2 separate regions of the Homo sapiens genome follow, and region 2 is linked to region 1. The links are contacts of gene promoters, found by promoter capture Hi-C in blood cells and fetal thymus (Javierre and others, 2016). All regions are on one chromosome and are shown on one strand. The core of a region is centred on a gene start or on the middle of the fragment in contact, and the rest is flanking DNA. Distances in the headings are between cores, read along the strand shown. Region 1 holds the start of PPP1R3C (protein phosphatase 1 regulatory subunit 3C). Region 2 overlaps HECTD2-AS1 (HECTD2 antisense RNA 1).

Region 1 (6,866 bases), core at 1,641-4,140:
ACTCAATTTTCTGCTCAGTTGGAATGACAGGGGGTAAGTCAATGGCAAATGAGAAGGTATCACTATCTGTGCCACCATACACATTTTTCATATAGACACAGTCTACGTCAGTGTAGTTTTTCCAAGAATCGAAAGTGATACGGATCTGAACTTTCTTCTCAAAACTCACATTTTTGACTTTAACAGTCCCTGTCACTGTTCGCTCTTGCAACGAGCAGTTCTCCAGACAGACAAAGTTCTTCTGAAAGTGGCTCCGGAAACTTAAGTAATCGGTTGAAGGCTGAGGGAAATCTAAAATCAAGTTTTTCTCCTCGTGGTGTTTTAAGGCAGAGGAGATATCATTAAGGTCCAAGAGATCAAACTGCAGATCCCACGCTGGTTCTTCTGGGAGGTCGGAGAAGACATGGATCGCAGTGAGAGAGAGGCCCTTGGAGTCAGCAAACACAACGCGCTTCTTGGCTTGGTTGTGTGAGCACTTCCAGTCATTCTGTGATTTGGCTTTGTGTTTTATATTGAGACATGATTTCAGGGGCTTTAATTTATTCACAAAATGTCGTCGTTGAAATTCATCGTACGGGCCCAGGAAACTCTTCACAGGTGGTGAATGTGCCAAGCAAAGCCTCATGGCCACATCCACGGGCATGACCGAACTTGTCAAAGGACGTGGATCTAAAACCTGGATCATTCTGGAATGCAAAAAGAAGAGGGATTATCACCTGGATCGGAAATGCTCTTCCCCAGTGCCAAATACATATGTACTATTTTTGTGCTGACTGAATTATAGCCAGTGCACTAGATATCAGGCAGGTGCTATCATATGTAGTAAAAGAGAACAGTATTAAGTGATCAGATCTTCTATGTCTACCTCTACCCTTGGCCGGCTAAAGGCTATTAATTGCTTAAAACACTTAGAGGGTGATGGGGGTCTCAGTTTCCCCATCTGAGAAATAAAAGGGTTCGATTTGATTATCTCCAAGGCAGCCTTGAGAACTGTGTGCTCTGTTCTGGACCAGTGGTCCTCAAACCTGTCTGGTCACTATGTCTAGGGAATTCATTTTCTTTCTTTCTTGTCTTTCCTCCTTTCCTCCTTCCCTCCTTCCTTCCTTTCTTCCTCTCTCTCTCTCTTTCTCTTTCTTCTTTCTTTCCAATTCCTGGGACTCAGAACTACTGAGGCAGAACTTCTGGGGCTAGGGCCAAGGGATGGGTATGTTCTTAAAGCTTCCCAGGTGATTCTAATGACCAGACAGGTTCAGGAGCCACAGTTCCAGACCCTCTGCTCCCTCTGGCTACGTTGGCTTATTTTGCTGCTAAATTGATTGACACTTCTCTGGTAAGGTAATTCACTTGAAAAAAAAAAAATAACATGCAACAGTTTTGAGAGTGAGAAGGCTAGAGAAGAAGTCAAAGAATCATCTTTGCACTTTGATTATCATGCTCTTATTTTTCACAAATAACCACTGAAATACAAGCCAACAATTCATATGCACTTAAAAACTATATAATTGATAATTCACCTAAAGAGATGCCCATGACAAGTCCACATTTAAGTGGAAAAACTGATTACCTGAAAGTTGGAGTGTTTTAAAATATACATTTTATATATACAAACTTATAAATATTGAAAAACTCTATAGGAAATACACCTTTCCTAATAATTTAATAATTATTATTTCTGGGTGATAGGATTATAGATTATCTATTTTCGTTTTTGTTCTTTTTTGGCATTTTCTAATAGACATTTATAAGTAGAAAGACAATAAAACCATTTAAAGTTTTAAACATGACTATGCTCAGCAATATTAAACCAAGAAGCATCTATAAAGAAGACTTTTCTCTGACCTTTAGCCCTCATCATATATTTCCAAGCTTATGGTATTAAGATTTTTTTCCCTATCTTAGCCTTACAAGTAAGAGGTGTGTGTATACTGTACACGACATTTCTCAGTCTGGCTTTAGTAACTCTCCTCACAGCAGCTCTAAACATGTATGCAAGTGGTCATTATCACAAAAGTGTGTAATAACACTCGCAGAATTTACTGTGTTAGCTCTGGGGTTTTTCTGGGAGATCTGCAAACTTAGAACAAACAAATGAAAGCTAAAGCTATATTTGTGGGTCTAATAATAGTTAATAGGCAGGATTTTTAGAGAAGTCTTCTGCTAAGCTATGTCTGGAGAAGCTATTTAAAGTAGTTTTATGGGAGGTTTTTTTTGGTTTTTTTGTTTTTTTTTTTTTACTTTTTGCATTTATAGAAAGACAGTTTTAGTTTGGGTGATTTCCTTGGAACTTTAAGTCCTGGACAAGAGTTAAAAGTAATCGTTTGCTCAAACTCTTGAGATTTTGCTATGGCAAACTGTGATAAGAAGGACGAATGAATGCAAACGTCGTCCTGTAATTTTTTTCCTCCAAGCTAAACCACCTAACCAGCAATGTCAGAGTGCTGTTCTCACCACTTCAGCTGCCCGAGTCTTTGGGACATTTGTGCAGGACCAAAAGAACAGCCGCATCCATGAGAAAATCCTAACTCAAGCTGATTCACGTTAAGATAATTTCTGCTTTAAGATGCTGATTACTAAAATAGGCTCTGCTTAAGAAATAGAGCCAAATTTCTACACCTCCAAGGCCTCTCGGTTGCCAGATTCAACTACGCAGTCAGTCCACTTGTCCTCCCCCTGGGGTGTCCATTTCCAGAGATGATAGAACTGAAACGCCCCCCAACTTCCCCACAGCTGCGCGTTCCCCTGTGTTCCTAGCGCGCAGAGTTGCAGCGAACCTACCTGGTGCAGCTCATTAGGCAGAGAGGCGGCGGACCCTAAAAGCCAGCACCCGCTGCCTGCACAAATTCGAACCACAGCTCCAGGCCTTGCCCCCGCGGCGGTCGCTGGGAGAGACTGAGGGCCCGGCGCCTAGAGGCCGCTTATCTGCTCCCAAGCACGTGACCCGATCCCTGGGACCAATCGCCGGGCCTCGAGCCCCAGGGCGCGACCAACCAGCGCCCAGCTGGGGCGCCAGCCCTCGCCCCGGCAACGTGATCGCCCCGGGGCGAGACGTGCAGAGAGCTATCTGGGCATCGCGGGGAGGTTCTGGGACTCCGCGGCCAGCTGGAACCAGCCGCGTAACGGGAACCCTGGGCTAGGGGCCGGGCAGGCACGTACCGCATGCAGCGGGCGCCGGCCAAGAGAGAGCGCAGCCAGCCTCGCCCAGGCGGGGCGCCAGTGCCTCAGGCTTGGGGCGGCTGTTACTTGGGAATAGCTTTGTGGGTCACTGCGGGTGAATCTGCACACAGAAGATGTGGCTCAAACCGAATGTGTATCGCATTTGAAATGTTTATATCGTTCATTACCCGGTGTATCCGCATTTCTCCCTCACCTTAGCCTGCGCGATCCCAAACTGGCTGCATGCTTTTCGATTAGTATGAGTTCACAGATGCACCACACAGTAGACAGCTGCCGGGAATTACCAACTTATCTAACAAATGTTGTTAGGAAAGCATACGAGCCCCATAAAACACCAAGGTGGCATTTAATTAAAAGACACTTCGTATTTCTGTCTATTCTTCAATTTTCTCCCCTGCGGGGAACACTAAAGCCGGAAGTGAAATGACCCTTTTCACACATACAGCCGGTCAAGAGGCAGCAGTCAACCCAAACCCCTTACTCAATTCTGACGTCCTTTGGCAGTGGTGTGGAAATCAAAATGTTAAAATAAAATTTAAAAAATCACGCCGTATGTTTCATGGGCCTTCTGAGCCACTCACTTTCGCTGAAGTTTCATTATTTTGATTAGTTTGAAGAATTTTTAGACCATCATTTACAACTGTAAAATTAAATGTCTAAGTCAAGTCTAAATTATTTTTATAAAACCCACATCCTAGTTTTGCTCCCCTAATTGAGCTATCCATTAGTCAATTAAAATATACAAAAATTCCTATGTCTTTTAAACAACTGTCAAACAGTGGAATTGTTAAAATTATTAGAGTGAAGAAAAAAATCACACTGAATATCACTGGGAAAGGGACTTCATGCCTGGGTTTTATTTTTGAAATGAAATATCTAACTAATGGCAGGTCTTCTAGCCCCTTTAGCTCAACCAAAACTAGCTGGAAGGTCTTTGGATTGACACTTACTAGCTACACGAATCTAGGCAAGTTCTAACCTCAGTTTCCTCATGTGTAAAACAGAGATAGTAACGTTCTGAAGATGAAGTAAGATGGTGCCAATGAACAGACTCAGCACGATGCCCAGTGCCTGTGTTCCACCCGGGCTAGTTCCCAAGTTTCTACTTGATCTCTCAGCTAGAGTTTTTACTCTATCACCTCAAGGCGCCTGGTGCCTGAGCTAAAATATTGAGAATAGCTGCTGCTTGTTGAGCCTTTACTCTGTGCCAAACACTATGTGCTATCAATTCAATCCTCACAACAACCCTATGTGATATGTCCAATTATTAATCCCATTTTAGAGAAAAGAAAACGGAGACACTGAATGGTCAGGAAATCTGCCCAGTGGATCACTTGAGGCCAGGAGTTCAAGACCAGCCTGGCCAACATGGTGAAACCCTATCTCTACTAAAAATACAAAAATTAGCCGGGCATGGTGGTGCACACCTGTACTCTCAGCTACTCTGGAGGCTGAGGCAGGAGAATCGCTTGAACCCGGGAGGCGGAGGTTGCAGTGAGCTGAGATTGCACCACTGCACTCCAGCCTGGGCAACAGAGCGAGACTCTATCTCGAAAACAAAAAACAAAAAAAAAACCTGCCCAGGTTCTCACAGGTAGAGCAGGGATTAGAGCCTGGCTGATACCAGAGCAATAACCGCTGCACCATATTGTCTTATTTTAATGACCCATCAATGGTTAGAATTATGGAGGTAGGAGGTGATAGGCATCAAACTCTTTATTTCACAGATGAGGAACTGAAAGCTTAGACAGGTCAAGCTGCTTGCCAGGGGCTGGCTAGGTCTGAGCCAAAACTAGAACCCTGGGTATTCTTTTCCTCTACCCATGATTATATGTTGAGCTAAATAGTAAATATTACCAGTTAAAACTATGGAGAAACATGAATAACAATTTATGGTGATCGCATTTTGAGGGAAAGGTATCCATGCATAGAAAACAGAATGTGCTCTACAGAAATGTGAACAGTTCATTTTGGAATGGTGAGATTATGAGTGATTAAAAATGTCTTCGTTGTTTTGCTGCTCTGTTGTTTTTCTTAATTTTTCTACAATGAACATACACGACCTAATTAAGAAATAATTTTTCAAGGGCGTTAAAACTCTGGGATTCAACTAACACATATAGCGTACTGCTAGGTGCCAAGAACCGTGGTGGAAATTTTCACATGCTTGTGCCATTTACTCACACCACCCTTTCAGCCTGTTCCATTCATACAGCTTTCTCTCCTGCCCCCTGGTGTTGACTAATGCCATAGAAGTCACTCTCCCTTTCAGCTCCTTCAAATGGAAGATTCAGGGAGACCATGCTTTCTCCTAAAAGGACTCAACACTCACTCAATAAACCTCTAAATTGGATGATCCAGGCTTTTCACTTCTGTCTCCTTCCCAGCTTTTGCTCCCCTTCATTATTGGATGAGAGAAACTAGGATGGAATCAGTGTTCTTAGTTGTAGGTTGCACCAATGAAGACAGAGTAGAAAGGAATCGTGGGGAGTTGTACTATTATTCGTAGGATTTCTCCCACTGTGGTTTGGCAGCATCTAAACATTGCTTGGTCCTACCCATCTTAACAATCAATCTATCAGCAGGAAATTATTGAGCTATGCAGTAGTTCCAGCTCCATGCCAGGGGTTACAAAGTCTGAGCAGTCATAATCCTTTGACCTTGAGGAGGTTACAATCATTATTACAGAAAAACAAATTCATAGAATACCCAGCAGACATTTTAAGAAGCTACTAAGCAAGGAGCTGATAATTGTGGGGCTTACACAAGTGGGTCTCTTACAGCATTCACTCAACACGTTGCCTGAGAGCTGCCTTTGGAAAAACACCCTGGGGGGTTGCCAAGTTGCCAACTCATTTTCTGCAAGCTTGTCTTTTTTCAGTGCCTAATCAAGAAAGTACTTGAGAATTCAGCCTCATAGTTATTAATATAAAAATGTCAGTACTTTAACCACAGTTAGTGGTAACTGAGAGAAACCTCGTAAGTGATCTTGAAGATCACTTACGGAGTTTCAGTGAAAGAGTCAGGGAAGTTGCGAACTGGTTTTTTTTTTTTTTAATTATTATTAAAAGGAGCAGGTTTTGCATTTTGGAGAACAAAAAAGGTGCCAATTCATTTGTCTCAGTTAATAGTAAGCGCTCTTGTACACTATTTTCTTCTTCCTTCTTTAGCTACATTCAACAGGAACTCCAATATTAAGTAAAAGGATACAACCTGAAAAACATATACTGCTTACTTTGGGCTCGGCACTGTTTTAAGCACTTAGAAATATTAACTCATGTAATCTTTATAAGAATCCGGTGAGGTAGAAACCCATTTCACAGATGAGGAACGTGAAGACATCGAAGGTGCCAATTGTCCAAGATCACACAGCTAGTAGGTGACAGGATCAGGTTTCAAGCCCCTCTAGAATCCACGCTCCTAGTATGTGAGTTGCTCTGAAAAAGACAAGCACCACACTGGTAGCTACCAAGACCAAAAAGCAGCTCCGAAGGCCAAAGAGATCCCGAAAGGAGAAGGCTCGCTGTGGAATATCTGTGGAAGCTTCAAGGAGGTAGCGGGAATTGGGAAGGCCAGGAAAATGGGAAGAACTTAAATATGATGTGCTATCATCTTTAGGGCATTTAGATGACTAGAATACAACTTTGTGGCTCAGCAAATAAGAGAGCAAATAAGATCACCATTGAAACGGT
Region 2 (6,866 bases), core at 3,233-5,732, 84 kb before region 1:
GAAGCACTCAGGGTTAAGCCCCAATTCCTACTGCATAGATGTAAGATGCCCAGGATGTGACACAGTTGCCTCGGTCTTCGGCCACGCACACATTGCGGTTTTGGGTGTTGAGTGCTCTGCTACTCTTAGCCAGTTTGCAGAAGGAAAAGCAAGGCTCACAGAAGGATGCTCCTCTGACAGAGCAGCACTGAAGGCACCCTGAATCAACAAGAGTGGGAAACCATCCCAATAAACATGTTTTGGATACAAAAATTGAGAAAGTCAGGAAAATTTGAATAAGGACTTGATATTAGTGGTATTTAGGAATTATTAATTATATATGTAATAATGGCATTCTTTATTGGTGGGTTTTGCTTTTTTCCTTTTCTATTACAGGCATATATTGAAATATTTGCAATATACAGGCATATATTGCATATATTATGAGTGAAAGAAGATGCTGTCTGGGATCTGACTTTAAATGTCCAGGAAAAACCTACCCACCCATTCTCTCACACACACATACAAAGGCCCTACACCCAGATGGCTTCCCAGGAGTATTCTACCAACCCTTGAATTTAACGTAATGGGTAATCACAATGCTATTGAATGTGTTCCAGAATACTTGGAATGCATTCACTCACTTAATCCTCATGCTAACCCTCTGAGGCAGGGATCATCCTCACTCTACATATGAGACCACTGGGTAACAGGCTCAGTGAAGAATCTAGCCTACGGTCACACAGTTGGAGGTGGTGGAGACTAATTGTAAACCAGGAAATGCAATCTTAGAGCAAGTGCCCTCACTTAGGGCTGCTCTGTACCATCCTTGTGAACCACACCCCTGACGTTGTGCAGAACACACAGAACAACCTTGAAGAATGTACATGTGGGCCTACCTTAAAAACTATGCAATTCAGTCTTTCATAAATAAATTAATGGATTAATATATAATAAATGAATGAATTTTCTTCATTTAGCCTTACGAGTTTCACCCTCATCAAATGGACTCCCTAAATCTTGCCTTGTTCTCAAAAAGGCTGAATGCAGAGGTAGCCATGCCAAGACCACACTGACTGAGTTCCAGCAACCTCACTGCTAACTCTGCTTTACTGGTTGGGAACAAATCAGTTGTCAAAATTGCTTGATAGGAAATGAAGTGACATTGGCCTAGTTCCTTTTGGCTACTCTGGCTTTCTCCAACCGAGAGGGACAGCAGTCGGCCTCCCTGTCAGAAACTCTGGCCTGAGATAAAGAAAAAAACCACCAACACAGCAAGATGCAAAAGAAGCCAGAGGCCCACCTGCCCCAAATCATTCATCTCCTTGGACTGCTTCTGAGTGTGAAACTCCTGCCATTGGCTTCTCTTCCCTGGATTAAAGACCAGTTAAAATATGGATCTGTAAACTCAAGGTAAGAGCACAAAGGTAACTCTTGGTAACACTTTTCACATGAACACAGATTCCTTTATCAGTGAGCTAAAAGAAAGTAGGACCAAGAGGAATTTGGGTACAGATGGGAATGTTGAGGGGAGAAAGGAATCATAAAAAGGCTCAAATGTGGAGCTATTGGTTGAGAAAAATCTGTCTTTGTCTGGTGCCATTTTGAAGGAAGGGATGGCTTGGGAAGATGGAGCCAGGTGGCATGTGGGCATTGAGTGACCAGCAGAGGAGGATCTGGGAGACCAGGAGCTGTAAAAGAAAAGACTGAGAGAGGTTGTGATTCTTTGGGGAGTTCCTCTCCGTTTCATATGATACCTGGTGAGGCTGTCAGTCACAGGGTTAGACCACGTGTTCCAGGCTAACCAATTAGACTCTTTCCTAAGATTGATACATGGATGGTAAGAGACAGAGGTCTGTCGTCAACATCTTTTTAAAATAAATTTAAATGTAAAATAATTCAAGCATGAAGGCCGGGCACGGTGGCTCATGCCTGTAATCCCAGCACTTTGGGAGGCTGAGGCAGACAGATCACTTGAGGTCAGGAGTTTGAGACCAGCCTGGCCAACATGGTGAAACCCTGTCTCTTGTAAAAAAAAAAAAAAATACAAAAATTAGTTGGGCATGGTGGCGGTGCCTGTAATCCCAGCTATTTGGGAGGCTGAGGCAGGATAATCACTTGAACTGAGGAGGCAGAGGTTGCAGTGAGTTGAGATCATGCCACTGCACTCCAGTCTGGGTGACAGAGTGAGACTCCATCTCAAAAAATAAATAAATAAATATTCAACCATGAAAAAGTAGCAATAATCATATAATGATTTTAGTATGCCCTTCACCTAGATTAACATTTGGCTATATTTGCTTTATCAATCACTTTCTCTCTCTCACCTTCTCTGTTCATATTACTTTATTACATTATGTAATATAGGATTTTTGTTGTCATGACTGAGCTATTTGAGAGCATATTGTAGACATCATGATCCTTTATCCTTAAATACTTTGCATTTACCTCTTAGGAACAAGGATACTCTTTTACATAATCACAATACAATGACCAAATTCAGCAAATTTGACATTGAAACAATCTTCTTATCTAATACACAGTGCATTTTAAAGTTCTACTAATTGTCTTAATAATGTCTGTTATAATGGATTTTTCCCATCTGTCTCATCCAGGATCCAGGATGGCATATTGCATTTAGTTTTCATATCTCTTTAGTCTTATTTAACTGAAGAGCACTTTAGCCTTTCTATGTCTTTTATGACATTGACTTTTTTAAAAAAAAAGATAGGCCAGTTGTTTTGTAAAATGTTTCTTGGTGTAGGTTTGTTGGTTCTTCCTCATAGTTAGATTCCATTTACACACTTTTGGCAGGAGTACCAGCAGCTTTCTTGACAGTCATGGAGGGAGAGCCAGTCAAAGGAGTGAAGCCATATAGAGGAAAGACGAACAGAGAGGCAGAGGAAGAAAACCAACCCAGATGAGCCCCTTGATCCAGTGAAACTCGACTTGCTAGTTACATAAGCCAATAAATTCCTCTTTTTTGCTTCAATTAATCTGAGTTGGTTTTGTGGCTACTCTGCCTCACTCACACCTTAGCCAACATGTGGGACCAGATAGTGTCCTTCAAAAAGCCCCAAATTAGTAGGACCAACTCAGGTCTGACCAGAAGGACATATCCAAGGCAGCCCACATGAAATTGGCCATCTTCCCTAGTAATGAGTCAAAAGCCACACAGTAGTAACTGCTGTCACTTGATTCTTACCTTAGAACCGTGCCTCCACAGAAAGCCCATAACCTGCTGTGGCTTATCCAAGCCCCAGTGACACAAAGAGAAATCTGATTTATCAACATTTCCAGGAATACAGACTTTTTCTTCTCTCTGCATTTGTCCCTTCACTAGGGCCTCCCCATTCTCTCTTTTGTGCATTAACTATGGTCACCAGATATCCTATCTCCATTTACCATTTACCTCACGCTTGTCCAGTCCACAGCCTGCAGGCTGCATGCAGCCCAGGACAGCTTTGAATGTAAACTTTCTGAAAACATTAAGAGATATTTTTGACAATTTTTTTTTAGCTCATCAGTTATCGTTCGTGTATTTTATGTGTGTCCCAAGACAATTCTTTTTCCAATGTGGCTCAGGGAAACCAAAAGACTGGACACCCCTGAACCTGCTGCCTCTTTACTATCTCATTATAATTAGTACAGTTGTGTAGAAGCTTTAGCCTCTGGAAGATGAGAGATTGAGTGGGTGCAGCCGGCTCTCCTGTGGGGGCATCTGGCCAGTCCATTCTCTTGGCTCCCCCGCCTGGATCCTTTTCTTGCCTGGGTGTTGTATGTGACCACCAGATCTGACCATTTCATGTGTGTTTCCACTTTTGTCAGTTATAATTTGCCAGGCTTGCCCTTTCCATATCTACACATGGAAAGCACATTAGGTTGCTAGAATTCACAAAATAGAATGCCACAAACTGGGTGTCTTAAACAACAGAAGTTGATTTTCTTACAGTTCTGGAGGTGAGAAGTCTAAGACGAAGGTGTTGGCAGGTTTGGTTTTTAATGAGTCTCTTGCCTTGGCTTGTAGGTGGCCTTCTTGTTGCCGTGCCCTCACAGGGTCTTTGTTCTGAGCATGCACATGTGTGACTCCCAATTTTCTCTCCTTATAAGGACACTAGTCAGATTGGAGTAGAGCCCTACCCCAACAGCCTCATTTTAACTTAATCACCTCTTCAAAGGCCTGATCTCCAAACACAGTCACATTCAGAGATATTGGAAGTTAGGGCTTCAACATACCAATTTTGGGGGCAGGGGCCACAAGGCAGTCCATAATAGAGAGGAACACATTATGTCAGGAGCGCATCTGACCTGCATTCAACTTAACCCCACTCAAAATTACTCAAGCAACAAATACATTTAATTATCTCACATAACAACAACCAAAAAAAAAAAGTGTGGCAATATTTTGTCCCTGGAATGGTGCATTGACTTAAAGGTATTACCAAAGACCCCATTTCTTTTCACCTTTCCCTATGCTGCCTTTGATATATTGGGGTTTTGTCCTTGCACTTGTCATAAGATGACTGCCAGGATTCCAGATATTATCACAACACTTTCCCCTTGGAATTTATTGGCTACGACTGAGTCATGTGGCCACTCATAGATGCAAGGGAGGCTGAGTAAGCAAGTGTCAGACATAAAATTGATTGTATGCAGGCCAGGCACTGGGATTACACCTGTAATCCCAGGACTTTGGGAGGCCAAGGTGGGTGAATCACTTGAGGTCACGAGTTCAAGACCAGCCTAGCCAACATGGCGAAACCCATCTCTACAAAAAAATACAAAAATTGGACAAGTATGGTGGCACACACCTGTAATCCCAGCTACTTAGGAGGCTGAGGCACAAGAATCAGTTGAACCCGGGAGGTGGAGGTTGCAGTGAGCCAAGATCATGCCACTGAACTCCAGGCTGGGCAACAGAGCAAGACTCTGTATCAAAAAAAAAAAAAAGCATTGATTGTATGCAGAAAAGAGTTAACATAATAGGCCTGAGACAGCTATTCTTAGGAAGGCCTGCTTACGAGGTTGGCCTTTGGTTGGCATCTGGGAACTTGGATTTTGGGAGGGGCCCCACTATTGTCAAAACTGATAACCATGGTTCACTGTGCTGAAACTGTGCATGCAAACAATATGGTATGTGCTGAACACCTGCTTGTCTTTTCTGGAGGTCTGGAATGTTGGTATATACTAGGTAAAGGGTGCCTGTGTGACCAGCCCCCGTTAGAAACCCTGGGCACTGAGTCTCTAATGAGCTTCACTGAGAGGCAACATTTCACATGTACTGTCACACCTCCCTGGAGAAATGAAGCGTGGCCTGCATGACTCCAATAGGAGAGAACTCTTAGAAGCTTGTGTCTGATTTCCTGTAGACCTTGCTCCATGCACGTTTCCCCTTTGCTGATTTTGCTTTGAGTGTATCATTGTATTGTAATAAATCTTAGCCATGAGTGTGACTATATGCTGAGTCCTGTGAGTCTTCCTAGCAAATCACTGGCCTTGGGTTGATCTTGGGGACCCTGACGCAGACAGACACCATGGTCTTAGACCAAGCATGATTCATCTTCTGGGAACTGGTCACCTTGGGGTTCTGTCAGTGGAGAGGAAGAGTGGTATGGCTGTGGAAAGTGACACAGTGTCTGCCACACAAATTGGTATTTCACTGAAAGATGTACTTATCAGAACAATGAGGACACCTAAAGACATCTGTAGGGGTTTTGTCACTTGCAACCAGATTCTCTGACTCATTGTGATAAAGATGCTTATTACAATTTGAACAGAAATCCAAATGGTAAAACATTTTACTGATAATCTCATTCAAACCTACCCTCCTTGACCTCTTATTCTGTGGGAAAAAGAGACTGTAATACCATGGAGAGAAAGTATGGGGAGGACAATTCCAAATGCCAGTGGCAGGATGGCCAGCATGATGCCTCCGGCCAGTAAGCTTGCCCTCTGAAGAAGGGTGAATGCTCCTGTGTTTGTAAATACTGGAGGCTCAGTGGATTGTCTTGAGAGGAGGGAGTCCTGATCAATTTAGTGATTGGTTCTTTTTTTTGTTTGTTTCATTTTGAGACAAAGTCTCACTCTGTTGTCACCCAGGCTGGAGCGCAGTGGTGCAATCTCGGTGCACTCCAACCTCCGCCTACCAGGTTCAAGTGATTCTCCCATCCTCCCACCACAGCCTCTCAAGTAGCTGGGACTACAGGCACACACCATCACACCCAGTTAATTTTTGTACTTTTAGTAGAGACGGGGTTTCACCATGTTGCCCAGGCTGGTCTCAAACTCCTGAGCTTAGTGATCCACCCGCCTTTGCCTCCCAAAGTGCTGGGATTACAGGTATGAGCCATGGTGCCCAGCCTCAACTGATTTGTTCTTACATTAGAAAATGAGCAGGAGAGCTGAGCCACAAATCTGTTTCCATGCTGATGTTTTCCCATCCTGAATAATCATCTGCCTGCCTGTGGAAAGGGAAAATGCAAACGTCTCCATGCAACTGAACACCCAAGTGTTTGCCATAGTATTAGCAAAACACAGCATGGCCAAACATGGAAAATAGCCCCAGAGAATGCCATTTTGCTCAAGAAGACCTTGGAGGAATATCTGGCCTGTTCAAGCACTTTCCCTACCCTGAATCTCTTTGGCTATAATTTGCCCATTTTTAATCAATCAATAATCATATTTCTGGGTTCTGGGGCTGAGACAGAGATCGAAGAAAGTGAAAGGCATGGTTCATGCCCTTATAGAGACTACATATAGCTAGACCGAAAACAGTGAGAAGCAAAACTGTGGGTGCTTTGAACTGTACATGCAGTGGGAATTAAGGAATGATGTAGTCAGGCTGAAGTGACCAGGGACATTTCCTGGGGACAGGACTTGAAGATGAG

Evidence for each region. Contacts are between HindIII fragments. The CHiCAGO score rates a contact against its expected background, and 5 or more counts as called.
Region 2: a contact is called between a fragment that was not itself captured here and the fragment with the promoter of PPP1R3C in region 1, in 1 of 17 cell types (endothelial precursors). The highest score is 6.8, in endothelial precursors.

What each region holds. Positions count from the first base shown.
Region 1 is chr10:91,630,181-91,637,046 of GRCh38, forward strand. It overlaps PPP1R3C (protein phosphatase 1 regulatory subunit 3C), which reads right to left and starts at 2,891. Exons shown (of 2, transcript NM_005398.7): 1 at 2,776-2,891; 2 at 1-686. The coding sequence starts at 2,789. RefSeq lists enhancers at 2,522-3,023, 3,024-3,523 and a silencer at 2,858-2,997. The HindIII fragment of the contact is 3,050 bases long and covers 1,865-4,914 here.
Region 2 is chr10:91,544,908-91,551,773 of GRCh38, forward strand. The region is part of intron 1 of HECTD2-AS1 (HECTD2 antisense RNA 1); the gene reads right to left. It also overlaps the pseudogene RPS27P1. Among named protein-coding and RNA genes, the nearest start is that of HECTD2-AS1, 63 kb to the right of the region's middle. The HindIII fragment of the contact is 1,686 bases long and covers 3,640-5,325 here.